Linked DNA regions of Homo sapiens: region 2 is linked to region 1. Evidence: promoter capture Hi-C in 16 types of primary human blood cells and fetal thymus (Javierre and others, 2016). All regions are on one chromosome and are shown on one strand. The core of a region is centred on a gene start or on the middle of the fragment in contact, and the rest is flanking DNA. Distances in the headings are between cores, read along the strand shown. Region 1 holds the start of EXPH5 (exophilin 5). Region 2 overlaps ATM (ATM serine/threonine kinase).

The links. The method cuts DNA at HindIII sites, captures the fragments that hold promoters and counts their contacts. A CHiCAGO score of 5 or more calls a contact.
Region 2: a contact is called between a fragment that was not itself captured here and the fragment with the promoter of EXPH5 in region 1, in 5 of 17 cell types (naive CD4 T cells, naive CD8 T cells, non-activated CD4 T cells and 2 more). The highest score is 6.6, in naive CD4 T cells.

What each region holds. Positions count from the first base shown.
Region 1 is chr11:108,591,005-108,597,448 of GRCh38, forward strand. EXPH5 (exophilin 5) reads right to left here and starts at 2,764. Exons shown (of 6, transcript NM_015065.3): 1 at 2,414-2,764. The coding sequence starts at 2,532. RefSeq lists silencers at 2,241-2,300, 2,581-2,630, 2,651-2,950. The HindIII fragment of the contact is 3,661 bases long and covers 862-4,522 here.
Region 2 is chr11:108,350,708-108,357,151 of GRCh38, forward strand. It overlaps ATM (ATM serine/threonine kinase), which reads left to right. Exons shown (of 63, transcript NM_000051.4): 60 at 3,059-3,173; 61 at 4,104-4,167. It also overlaps a transcript of C11orf65 not described here. Among named protein-coding and RNA genes, the nearest start is that of C11orf65, 110 kb to the right of the region's middle. The HindIII fragment of the contact is 171 bases long and covers 3,725-3,895 here.

The sequences.
Region 1 (6,444 bases), core at 1,514-4,013:
CCTATCATAGATATAAATGAACTCATCAGCCATTCCCCAACCTGCTAAATTTCTAAACTTCCCCATTTGGACCCTTATTGTTCTAGTCAAGAGGTCTTGAAGCTCTTTCTCAATACAGTAAAAAGGCTTCCCTGAGTCTCTCAGACAGGCCTGTTGAAGCATCTCTTTTTTGTTGTTGTTCACATATGCCAAGCCAGAACAGAATGAAATTATACTCTTGAGTTATAAGTCATGTGTCCTGATTTTTGATTTGGAAAATATGATCACACATATCAAGAAAATGAGCAGAAGAGGCAGCCAAGTTGCCATGTTGTCTCAGGCCCTTTCTGCATGCCAATATCTGATACTGAAATTAATACATGTGAGCCTGAAGTGGGTAAGCAGAACAATCCCATGGAGCCTGCAAGCCAGACATGGGTATTTGATAGTGGAAGTGGGGAATTAATCAAAGGAAAAGACAGTACTAGAAATCATTGCCTTGGGTATTTGGTCCACACATCTACTTTCCTTAAATGATTTTTGTATTTTAATGGTGATATTTTTCAAATTGTTTGGGCAATTAAATACTTTTAATAATTAGTATAATACAGTATCGATTTTGTCTTAGCATTATGGCTTTTTCTGTTGATGCTTCCATTAGAATATGAGTGCCATGAAATTAGAAAATGTGTTTTGACCTTCCTTCTAATGCCCAGCCCAATGGCTTTGTGTAGATACACGTGCTTTGTGTAGATCTATGTGGAGATCCAGTTCCCTCTAAAGTCAACTGCAGTGGGCATCGTGAGTTGCAATAGAGAAAACACAATAAGGCAAGCAAGCATCAGGTCAAAAATAAAAAGTCAAGATAACATCTTAAATGAAAGCTTCTCTCCTTGTTATTTTCTAACTCTCCCCTCAATTTCCCCAAATATACAATGGATCACTTAAGAAGCCCCATCCTCTTCAGAGACAAGAAACATTTCCAATAACACACACTGAGAATAACCGCAGTTTCTTAGTGCCTTTGGAATATGCACTGAAATTCCGTGCAGTTCTGAAATTCTTCTTCTGAAAGTTGGGTGTGCCTTGTGCGGTGCATGTGCATATGTGTAGGTACATTATGCACGTGGGTGTGTGTGGGTGTGGCATACTGTTCTCCTGAAGGCACACTTTCTACACTGTTCAGGGGAGGGGAATGATAAAGCCACTTTTTCTCAAGGCAGATGGTATGAAATCCATATTCCCCAACCTCAAATATTCCTTCATCCCTCAAAGAGTCATGTTTAGGGGAGAAGGGTGAAGTCAGGGCATTGGGCTTAGTGTATTCTAATTCTTTCTACAAAGACCAACTAGATTTTCCAATTTGAAGAGGGTCCCTGGAGGGTTTCTTTTGTCGGCGGTGGGGGACAGGCAATTCTAGAAAGAATTGGGAACCTGGAACTCGCATTAGCAAGCAGTTGATCATAAAACAAAATGACTTGCTAAATTCCAATCAATGGCACACAGTGTGGTCTGAGAGTGATGTCCTGAATTCCCTTCCACAGTTATCTAGAGAAGGACTTAGATGGATATATTCCAATATTGGCGAGAGAGTCCCTTTAATTCATTCCAGCACTTATCCCACACTTCCCCAGCAGAAAAACTGGTTAATGTACATCCTGGGTAATTATCTGTGTCTCTGGATTTCATTCTTTAGTAACTAATCCCTCACCTACAACAGTGTATAGTAAGGTCAAGGATGAAATTTCTCAGAAACTCGCTCCCCACAGCACCACGCACAAGAAGACCCACCCATTCCAGCCAACCCCGTGTGTCCAAGTCCCATTCGCCCACATAAGCCTCTATTTGACAAATTCCTCGAGCTCCTACCCTTGGGGTGGGGACCTTTCGCCTCCCGTGAGGTGCCGGCTCTCCCGTGCTTCGCTGACTGCCCGCATTGGGTGGGGAGATTCGCCTCTGGTGCCGAGGGAAAACTGCGTTAGGCGAGGGTGGAAGCTCTGTCGGACCCGTGCGAGCACGTGGGTGCGCGCGGGCCGCGGAGTGAGCAGCAGCCAGGATTCCTCTCCAGATCGCGCCCCCGCCGCATTTCATTGCCTGAAACGGCCCACGCCCCGCGATGGCCCAGCAGACACCCGGCACAGCACAGCGTCACTGCGCGGCCCCCGCAGCGCACGGACCCCCCCACCCTGCCCGACCCCAGACCCGCAGCCGAGCCCGTCTGGTATGTGGTGGGTGGAGAGGGTACCAACTAAGCATCCCAAAGTCCTTCAGGGAGCAACTCCGCGCAGTTTTCTCTTCCCGACCCGCAGCCTCCGCAGCAGCCGCTCGGAGCACCCCCGGGCAGGTGCCCCGCGCGAGCTCAGCGCCTTCCCCGCGGATCCCCGGCCCCTGCGGGACCCAGGCCCAGGACAAAAGAAATGAATTTGCTCTGTACCTGATCCTGTCCTTCTCGGCCCTCTGTAACTCCTCATTCCTTTCCAGCACCTGAAGGATCTTCCTGGCCTCTTCGTCATTTAAGAAACTGAAATCAAACGCCGGAGGAACTTTCGTCATTTTCTTTACTGTGTGTGAGTTACACTTAAGCTCCTTGGCGCCTCCTGTTAGGAAGGCATTTTTCAACCTGTACAAGACCAGTTTCACGAACTTGATCCCACAGCCAATAATAAGTCCGCCCCTTTGAAAGTCTAAAACCACAAACCTAGGGAACGCCCACACCTGAAGGGCTCATATTGACAATACCTTAATGACATGTTTCTCTCAACCTGTCCAACCGAGATGCAAAGTGAACGGCTAAAGGGAGAGAGGGAACCAATCCCGTTCCAAGGGGGCGGGCCCTCCCTTGTCCCCTCCCTCGTCCCCTCCCTCGTCTCGTCCCGTCCCTCGTCCCCTCCCTCGTCCCCTCCGGTCACCCTCCCCGCCCCCTATCTGAGTTGTTAAGCAAACAAGCCTACATAATTCTGCCTCTTAAGTGAGGCAAGGCTAAGTGTTGGCGCCAAAGTATTTGCTTTTGCTGTTGCTGTTTGCTCGCAGAACTTGAGCTTGATTAGTAAAGGAGTGAAAAAGGAGATTCATGACTAATCCTCCCTTTCAATAATTAAGAGCCCATAGAAAATAGAATTGCAAGTAGGGTTTGTAACTGGCAAAAGGGTTACTTATCTGAAAGACCAGGAAGAACTAAACTCAATTACACTACTGACTGTGGATGAACCTGGCTGAAGGGCGGAAATTAGTGTATCCTTGGAAACGAATTATTTGCCAAGCCTCTCATCCCACAGACACCCCCACCTCCACTGTCCCACAAAAGTCATTCTTAGACTTTAGAAACAAACAAACAAACAAACAAAACCGTTTATGGTATTTTAGGAGAAGACAGCCCAGAAGCAAAGGACTGTAGAAAACACCTGTTAGAAGTTTTCTGTAAGATTTTATTATCATCTTAATAAACTCAGAGAAGTAATACACATGCCATTTAAAAATACCTAATCCTCTGGTGAAAGCAAATGGTAATCCTATGAAGCCACAGAAATAGCTTTCCTAGAAAGTCAATTGTTCCACAATGCAATGAAGAATAATAGAAACTTATAAAGATATTCACATATATACTTTTTTTTTAATTATCAAGGCTTTTACAGAAAACATGTTTTTATCTTGGCTTCACTTCCTACCCAAAAATAACTCTGTCAGATTGACTTTCCTGCCCCATAGCCTTAATTTGGTCATTTTGAAGATGGTGGTGATGATTACTAACATATAAAATGTACTTCTACATATATCATTTCTTTTCATGGCACATAAACCCAATTAAAATTTTGTATCTGTACAAGAACATGATATCAAAAATTGCCACTTGTGTTTTGTTCTCTGGGCTACCCCATTTGATCATCATTATTTAAAACATGCCTAGGCAGCTAGCCATTCAGATAACTTTCTGTGGGTGTCTGTTATTTGTGTGAACCAGGAACCAATTTTGTTCACCCATGGTGTACACAATACAGAACTCCTTTATAAATAGTGTCTGTATTAATGATCCTGTTTTGGGAGTATGTCTTGTATATGGTGTCCAGTTTTTCTAGTGTGTTCATTTATTCAGCATACACATGGGACTTTTCAATATGGTCACTGGTGGGATTTTACACTGTTTCCAGTATATCAGTGAACTGATTTCAACCAACGTATCCTGGTGCCTATTACATGAAGGCATCACACACTGTGAACAACACAGTCCTTGTCTTTAGAAAGTTTGTAATCCAGTGGGAGAGATACACAAATAGAAAGATGACTATGTAAAAAAGAACATAATAGAGGAATAAAGAAAATTCCATGAGCACACAGAAAAGTTAGTGCCAACTGAGTGGATGGAGAGAGGATACGGTATTTAGGTTGCTGCATGAAGAGTCAGATTTCAAGAGGAAGAAATAGGGGGTGGTGGGAGGAGATGTGTGAGTCTATTCTAGGCAAGGGGATCAGCGTGCTGAATAGCAGAAGTACAGTCTAGGAATCTTCTCATATTCCCTCAACCTCTTTAATGGCCAGACTGAACAAAAGCTTGGAAGCTAGAAAACACTGGAGCATGTTCATGGATTGTTAAGTGATCTGTTTTGGCAGAGCATGTAGTCTCCACAGGGGTAAAATCTTCCTCTTTTTATGTAGAAAGCACAAATCTACACATGATACACAGATACACAGTATATCTGAAGTATTAACATTGCACAAGGGAGGTGATTGTGAAAAAAGTTCTAAAAAGGTGCATTGTGGGGACAGTAGTGAGAAAGAGGTTTAGAAACACTGGGCTAGTGCTCAGAGCACAGTGAGCTGAAAGGTAGGCTGAGCTCTGACTATGAATGCCATGTGATGAAATCTAGACTTCATTGTGTAAGCACTGAGGAGCTAATACAGGTTTTGAGGGTGATAATGATACAGTTAAAATTGAACTTAAGGCCGGGCACAGTGGCTCACATCTGTAGCCCCAGCACTTTGGGAGGCGGAGGCGGGCAGATCACGAGGTCAGGAGATTGAGACCATCCTGGCTAACACAGTGAAACCCCGCCTCTACTAAAAATACAAAAAATTAGCCCAGCATGTGCACCTGTAGTCCCAGCTACTCGGGAGGCTGAGGCAGGAGAATCGCTTGAACCCGGGAGGCGGAGGTTGCAGTGAGCCGAGATCACACCACTGCACTCCAGCCTGGGCAACAGAGTGAGACTCTGTCAAAAAAAAAAATTGAACTTTGGGTAGATTACTCTGATAGCAGTAGACAAGAAGAGTAGAGTGAAGATGGCATCAAGGAAACCATTGTGTTGGAATGCTGATGCAGGAGAAAGGGAAAGAGGACCCAACCAAAGGCAATGTAAGTGAGAGTAGAAAAAGAGGGTGGAATTCCAAAGATATTGGCTGGATTTGATAACTCATTAAAAAGGAGGATTAAGAAAGACAGAGACGCAAAGATGATGCAAGATCTCAAGAGAGATGTCTAAAAGGAGACCAGTCTATTTGATAGTATGAGAAACAAGGTTTGTCAAGAAATCAGGTGTTCAGTTTTTGGCACAAGCAGTTTGAGGTACCTGCAATTCATCCACATGGCAATTTAAAATGAGAAATGTGGGACTCAAGTTCTTGAAACAGGGATGGAGAAGTAGACTGGGAAGTTGTCTGCTTAAAAATGGTTGCCAAAACCCTAAGATAGCAAAGGAAGGATGAGGAGCAGAAGCTGAGTTGAGAACTTTGAGTGTCCAACCTCATCAGACTTCAGCACTGAGGCATGCTTCAGCCCTGGGTTGTGGCACAATGGGGCATACTATTGAGAAATTTTTATATTGAGAAATTTACAAGGCATTGGGGACTGCCCTGGAAACCATACAGAACTGCTTTTGTGGAGTTTTAAACACAATGCTCTTAAAATTAAAATAATTCTCCAAAGGTTTGTTTTATGGGCTTATTTAGCCGGAGGCAAGCAGCCATTTTCAATCTTAGTATCCGGTAATCCTGGCAACCTTTTGCCCAGGCTCTCAGCTAAAGAGATACTCATCAGTTTAGTATTTAATAGTCACAGCTGGATAGAAAGCAGTGATCTTTAGAAATCTCTCATAGTCCCCTACCCTCTCTAGTCTGTTGGCCAAATCCCCACCACAGGGCTTAGTTTTTTCCATCCTTGACAATCACCAAGCCAAGAGACATGCTGATCACATCACTTGCTTGAATGTCTGATTTTTTTATTTTTATTTTTATTTTTCTTGAGATGGAGTCTCACTCTGTTGGCCAGGCTGGAGTGCAGTGGCTCAATCTCAGCTCACTGCAATCTCCGCCTCCAGGGTTCAAATGATTCTCCTTCCTCAGCCTCCCAATTAGGTGGGATTACAGGCGCACGCCACCGCACCCAGCTAATTTTTGTATTTTTATTAAAGAAGGAGTTTCACTATGTTGGACGGCTGATCTTGAATTCCTGACCTCAGGTGATTTAAATATTAA
Region 2 (6,444 bases), core at 2,560-5,059, 240 kb before region 1:
GGTGGGGATCTCAACAGAGGAGCCAGACTTTATCTGAGAATGAAAGGAGAGTGGTCTGGAAGATGCAAATTAGAGGTAGGAGTATGCCAACCTGAGTCCATTCAGGTCGTGCTAAAAGCATCTATAAATGAGAAGGGTAAATTGGTACAACCCCTTTGGAATATTGTTTGGCATTATCCACTAAAGCTGACTTTATGTATATCCTGTGACCCATCAATTCCACTCCAACACAAATGCATACATATGTATAAAAATGTTTATAGTAGCATTATTCATAATAGCCCCTAACTGGAAACAATCCAGATATCCATCATAGGTAGAATGGATGAACAAATTGTCGTATATTTATATTCTCTTTGTATATAATGAGATTGAATGAATAATAACACACAATATAGAAGACTCTCACAAATATAATGCTAAGTGAAAGATTCCAACATAAAAGAGTACACATGTATAATTCCATTTACATAAAATTCAAAAGCTGATAAAATTAATGTATAGTGTTAGAAATCAGGATAGTGGTGACCCTTTGAAAGAGGTGATTAGTGACTGGTAGGAGGGACTGAAAGGGGGCCTCTGGAATGCTGGTAGAGTTCTGTTAACGTGGATTTGTTCACTTTGCAGAAATCCCAGTGAGTCACACTTGGGTGATTTGTATACTATTCTGTGTATGTCTGTTTGGTTACCTGTTGCTGCATAACAAACCACCCCAAAATTTAGTAGCTTAAAATCACAATTTATTTATTATTATCTCTCATAGTCTGTTGACTGGGCTCAGCTGGACAGTTTTCACTTAGGATCTCTCATGCAGCTGCAGTTAGCATCTGGGGCTGGAGTTATCTTAAGACTCAGCTGGGCCAGAGTTCATGATTGCTTCTTCACTTACATGTCTGATGCTTCAGCACTCCCATGTGGCCTCTCTGTCCACAATAGTGTCCTGGACCTACTCAGCATCTTGGGGCTCCAAGGGGAAGGAAGTGGAAGTTAAGGGCTAGGCCTGCAACTTGCACAGTATCACTTCCATCACATTATGTCATCACATAGTCATGTCATAGGGTCCATCCTGGTTCTTCCCTGTTTCTGGGACTCCAGTAACCCTATGTTAGGCCTTTGCAATGTATCATTTATACTGTTACCTGCTAGTCTATATTTTCTAACCTTTTTTTCCTTTTTTCTGACTCACTCCTTGGTGTCAGTGGACATATCCGGGGAACCTGGACTTTCAGCCCTACTCAGCTATAGCAAGCCCTTTCCCTATTGAGTGTCAGTGGAGGCCAATTGGGGAATCTAGTCTTCTGCCCTTACCTAGCAGTAACAAGGTGGTGACTCCCAAAGGCATTAAAGGCAGAAGTTTAAGGAAGATCCTGAGTCTCGTAATAACTAAAAGGTGTAGGTGTCAATTGAAAATCATTAGGCATACCTGGAACCAGGAAAATCTCAACTTTAATGAAAAATGGCCACCTGTAGGTGCCAACACTGAGATGACAATGATGTTGGAATTATCTAAGATTTTAAAGCAGCCATCATAAAAACACTGAAGGAACAATTACAAACATGCTTGAAACAAATTAAAATATAGTAAGTCTCAGCACAGAAATAAGTAGTCTCAGTATAGAAGTAGATATAAAGGAGAACCAGATGGAAATTTTAGAACAGAAAAATATAGTAAATAAAATAAAAAATTTCAACTGCAGAATGAGGAGACAGAAGAAATTATCAGTGAATAGAAGACAGAGCCGTAGAAATTACCCAAGCTGAGCAACAGAGGAAGAAAATTAAGAGGAAACCTTCAGCATCTAGGGCTAAACAGAGTTCCTAGACTTGATACCAAAAGAACAATCTTTAAGAACTCTCAAAACTTAACAACAAAATCTACTTATAAAATGGCCATGTACTACAAATGTGTATAGCAGCTTTATTCATAATAGCCAAGAACCGGAAAAATCCAGATGTTCTACAGTGGGCAAATGCTTAAACAAACTGTGTTACATCCATGCCCTGAAATACTACTCAGCAATGAAAAGAAACAGAACTATTGATATACATAACAATTTGGATGAATCTCCAGAGAATTAGGCTGAGTGTAAAAAGCTATTCCCAAAAGGTTACATACTGTATGATTATTCCACTTCCATTTATATAACATACTTGAAATGACAAAATTATAAAAATGGAGAACAGATTAGTGGCTGCTAGAAAAATAGGGGGTCAGAGGGCTGGGTGATAGGCTATGGGAGGGAAATAGGTGCAGCCGTAAAGGGCAGTATGAAGGATCCTTATGATAGGAATATTATATATCTTGACTGCATCGATGTCAGTAGTAGTATAGTTTTGCAGGACATTACAGTTGGGGTGAAATGGGGAAAAGGCATAAGGGATGATCTTTTCTGTATGATTTCTTACAACTCGAAGTGAACATATAATTATCTCATAAAATGTCATTAATTTTTTTTTTTTGATGGAGTTTCACTCTTGTCGCCCAGGCTGGAGTGCAATGGCACGATCTCAGCTCCATGTATCCTTCACCTCCCAGGTTCAAGTGATTCTCCTGTCTCAGCCTCCCGAGTAACTGGGATTATAGGCACCTGCTACCACACCCAGCTAATTTTTGTATTTTTAGTGGAGACAAGGTTTCACCATGTTGGCCAGGCTGGTCTCTTAACTCCTGACCTCAGGTGTCAGGCCTCCTCAGCCTCAAGGTGCTGGGATTACAGGCGGGAGCCACCACACCCAGCCTAAAAATTTTTTAAATATAAATATATCATCTCCATTTTAAATTATACCAGTAGTTACTTCATTTTTAAAAATCACCCTTTAACCTAGATTTCTCTAGTTGGGTTAAGAAGTAGTTAGGTTATTTGGATTTGAGGTGGATCTCACAGACAGTGACAAAGATGAGGAAGGCAGCCAGAGCAGAAGTAAACTACTGTACATACTAGTGTTCATAGAACGTAGGTAACATGTGGTTTCTTGCCTTTGTAAAGTTCACATTCTAACTGGAAAGAAAGTAAATTAGCTGTCAAACCTCCTAACTTCACTGTATTCTTTACTTTAGGTGTTGCTTTTGAACAGGGCAAAATCCTTCCTACTCCTGAGACAGTTCCTTTTAGACTCACCAGAGATATTGTGGATGGCATGGGCATTACGGGTGTTGAAGGTGTCTTCAGAAGGTAAGTGATATGAAGTAAAGGAGGGAAATAATTTTTGATGTCAAAATTACATGGGCTGGGCATGGTTCTTTGCACCTGTAATCCCAGCTGCTCAAGAGGCTGAAGTGGGAGGATTGTTTGAGCCCAGGAGTTTGAGTCCAGCCTAGGCAATACAGCAAGACCCTGTATCTAAAAAAATACACACACACAAACACACACACACACACACACACACACACACACACACGGGTTAGAGATTTGTATAGATTATAGAATTTAGTGCTAGAATCGTATTCCAGTGCCTTATCAATACTAAGGAAAAGACCCTGGGTAAAAGCAATAATAGTTCCTCTTCCTTCCACCCACCTGGGACCTAAGCCCATGTAACATACATACTGTTATTCCAAACCTCCTCTGGAAGCATCCCACCTTTACTTTTAACACCTCTATCCTGGCTGACTCCTTCTTAATGATCCAAACTACTATTGGGTGCTCATCACTGTGCATATAGAAGAGACTACATTTTTATTTATAGGAGCTTGTGTTCTAGTATAACATTGTGCTACTAAAAAAGCTTTGCAGTTCCTTGTAGTTTTCCCAGCATAGGTCTGTGTACTCAACTTGGATTGGGGCAGATTGCAGTCAGTGTAAACTAATAATTGCCACAATAATCAAAGACTGAGAGCTGAGCCCAGTGGTGCATGCCTGTAATCAATAGTGTTGTGTTATTCTTGTAAATGCCAAGCTTGTGAAATAGTCAAATACATATTTGTATTCATTTCAAACGTCTAATGAAAGCCCACTCTGCCAAGTATTATGCTATTTTGAGATACAGATATGTAGATTATTAAGCATAGGCTCAGCATACTACACATGAGAGTATACAGATAAAGATACGTTGACAACATTGGTGTGTAACAAAATCCGTATTTATAATGTGTTTGACTCTAGATGCTGTGAGAAAACCATGGAAGTGATGAGAAACTCTCAGGAAACTCTGTTAACCATTGTAGAGGTAAAGTATTTTATAAGGAAGACTTTATTTTTTTTCTTACCAGGTAGACTGTGTATCTCATCAGGAAGTCACTGATGTGAAGAGCACTGCTTCATTTTAACATAGGGGGATGTGGCTGGGCAGCAGAAAGGAGGAGATTGTGCACTTAGCCTTTTCACACATCCAAAAATACTGGTTTAGAAATGCCTTCAGCCCCCTTGAGTTTCTTGGAATGTTAGAGCATTGTAAGTAGTCTCTAGTTTTCAATTCATAAATCAATTCTTTGACATTTAGATATTCCATATGGTATTATTATTTTCAGAATGGTTTCCATTAGGGTTTAAGAAAAATCAGAAATTTATATCTCCTTTTTCCCTGCTCAGGTTCAGAACTAATTAGTCAGACAAATGGAGATCAAATTGTCAGCATCATTACTAGAGGAACATGGCTTAGGAATGAGGGCCAGACTAGTTTACTGCTGGTGCTACCTCAGTACCTCTCTGCTGTCTTAACTTTGGGACAGCTCACCTGAATAGGGTTTGGGCCTGCAGAGCAAACACATGTAATCAGGATCACTGCCTTGTCTTGATCCAGGGCAGAAAAAAGGAAGTCAAACAAATTTCAGTGTCTGTGCTGTTAGTACCTATGCCAGTCATTCACCAATCTGGTAAGGGTATGTGAGACAAGAAATCAGGAGTGTGGCCTCCCCAGGGAAGCATGGCAGGTAGAGTGCAGTATGGGCTTGCCACTTTTCCACTACTCAGCTTTTCTTCCTTTAACCTGATTTATGTTGGACTGGCTGCATGTTAGTATTACTTTTACTGCATTTAAAAAACATTGATGCTGATCAAATTCAAACCAGGTTTCTAGAGATGGGGCAGGAATATGTGCATTTTTAAAAATCTCTCCTACTGTTCAACTAGGATATGAGAACTGTCTTAATTCATTGGCATTAACCATTAAGCCTGTGGTCAATAAGGGTGGGGCTTTATCCCTTGGAAGATGAGTAACAGTCCATCAGGGTGGTCCTGTGTGCACCTTTATGAACCGAGGCATCTTTATAGATCTCCTTTGGACTGCAGATGGTAATACAGATTTTGCTACAAGGAGTTTGCTGAAATAGGTCCCAATAATACGTTGGTAAAATTAAATCCAAGGCTGTGCTATTCCCAAGGTTAAAAATACATTCTTTTTTCTTTTACCGATTTCAAATTCTGTTCATACATGTTGTCATTTGTTACAGTTTGCCATTGGTTCTGCAGTAAGAATAAATGATAAGAAAATAAGCATGATGTGTAACATTTTAAAAAAATAATACATGGTAACATGGATGCCTCAATAATGTCGAAATTAAACTCTAAAGTTATATTATCTTGCACTTTTTCATGTAAGAAAAAGAGGGCTGGGCGCGGTGGCTCATGCCTGTAATCCCAGCACTTTGAGAGGCCGAGACAGGTGGATCACCTGAGGTCAGGAGTTCAAGACCAGTTTGGCCAACATGGTGAAACCCCGTCTCTAATAAAAATGCAAAAATTAGCTGGGCGTGATGGCGGGCACCTGTAATCCCAGCTACTCAGGAGGCTGAGGCAGGAGAATCGCTTGAACCCAGGAGGTGGAGGTTGTAGTGAGCTGAAATTGCACCATTGCCCTCCAGCCTGGGCGACAAGAGCAAGACTCTGTCTGTCTTAAAAAAAAAAAAAAAAAAAAGCCCAAACTTTTCAAATTAAAGAGTCAAAGCAGCTTAACATATTCTTTAGTATTTTACTCTACCTAGTTTCAGTCAGAAGGGATTTTTATGCTAAGGTGGATTTGGGAGTTTCTTCCAGTACTTGTATCCTACCTAACACTCACCAGAAGAAGGTAGTTCTTTTAGGGCCTCAGAAATCTTACTAGTTTAATGCCAAACTGCTTATGGACTTCACTTTTTAGAGTAGTAGGAGATCAAATGAGAGAAGTGACAGTGGCCAGATCCTTTGCCATTGTAAGGACTTTGGATTTCCTTTGAGTGAGGGTTTTGAGTCTGAAAAGTGATTTGCATCTCCACCTACAATAACTGTCACCTTTAAACACACCCTCCGGGAGGAGGAGCCAAGATGGCCGAATAGGAACAGCTCCGGTATACAGCTCCCAGCGTGAGCGATGCAGAAGACAGGTGATTTCTGCATTTCCATCTGAGGTACCAGGTTCATCTCACTAGGGAGCGCCAGACAGTGGGCGCAGGTCAGTGGGTGCACGCACTGTGCGCGAACTGAAGCAGGGCAAGGCATTGCCTCACTTGGGAAGCGCAAGGGTCAGGGA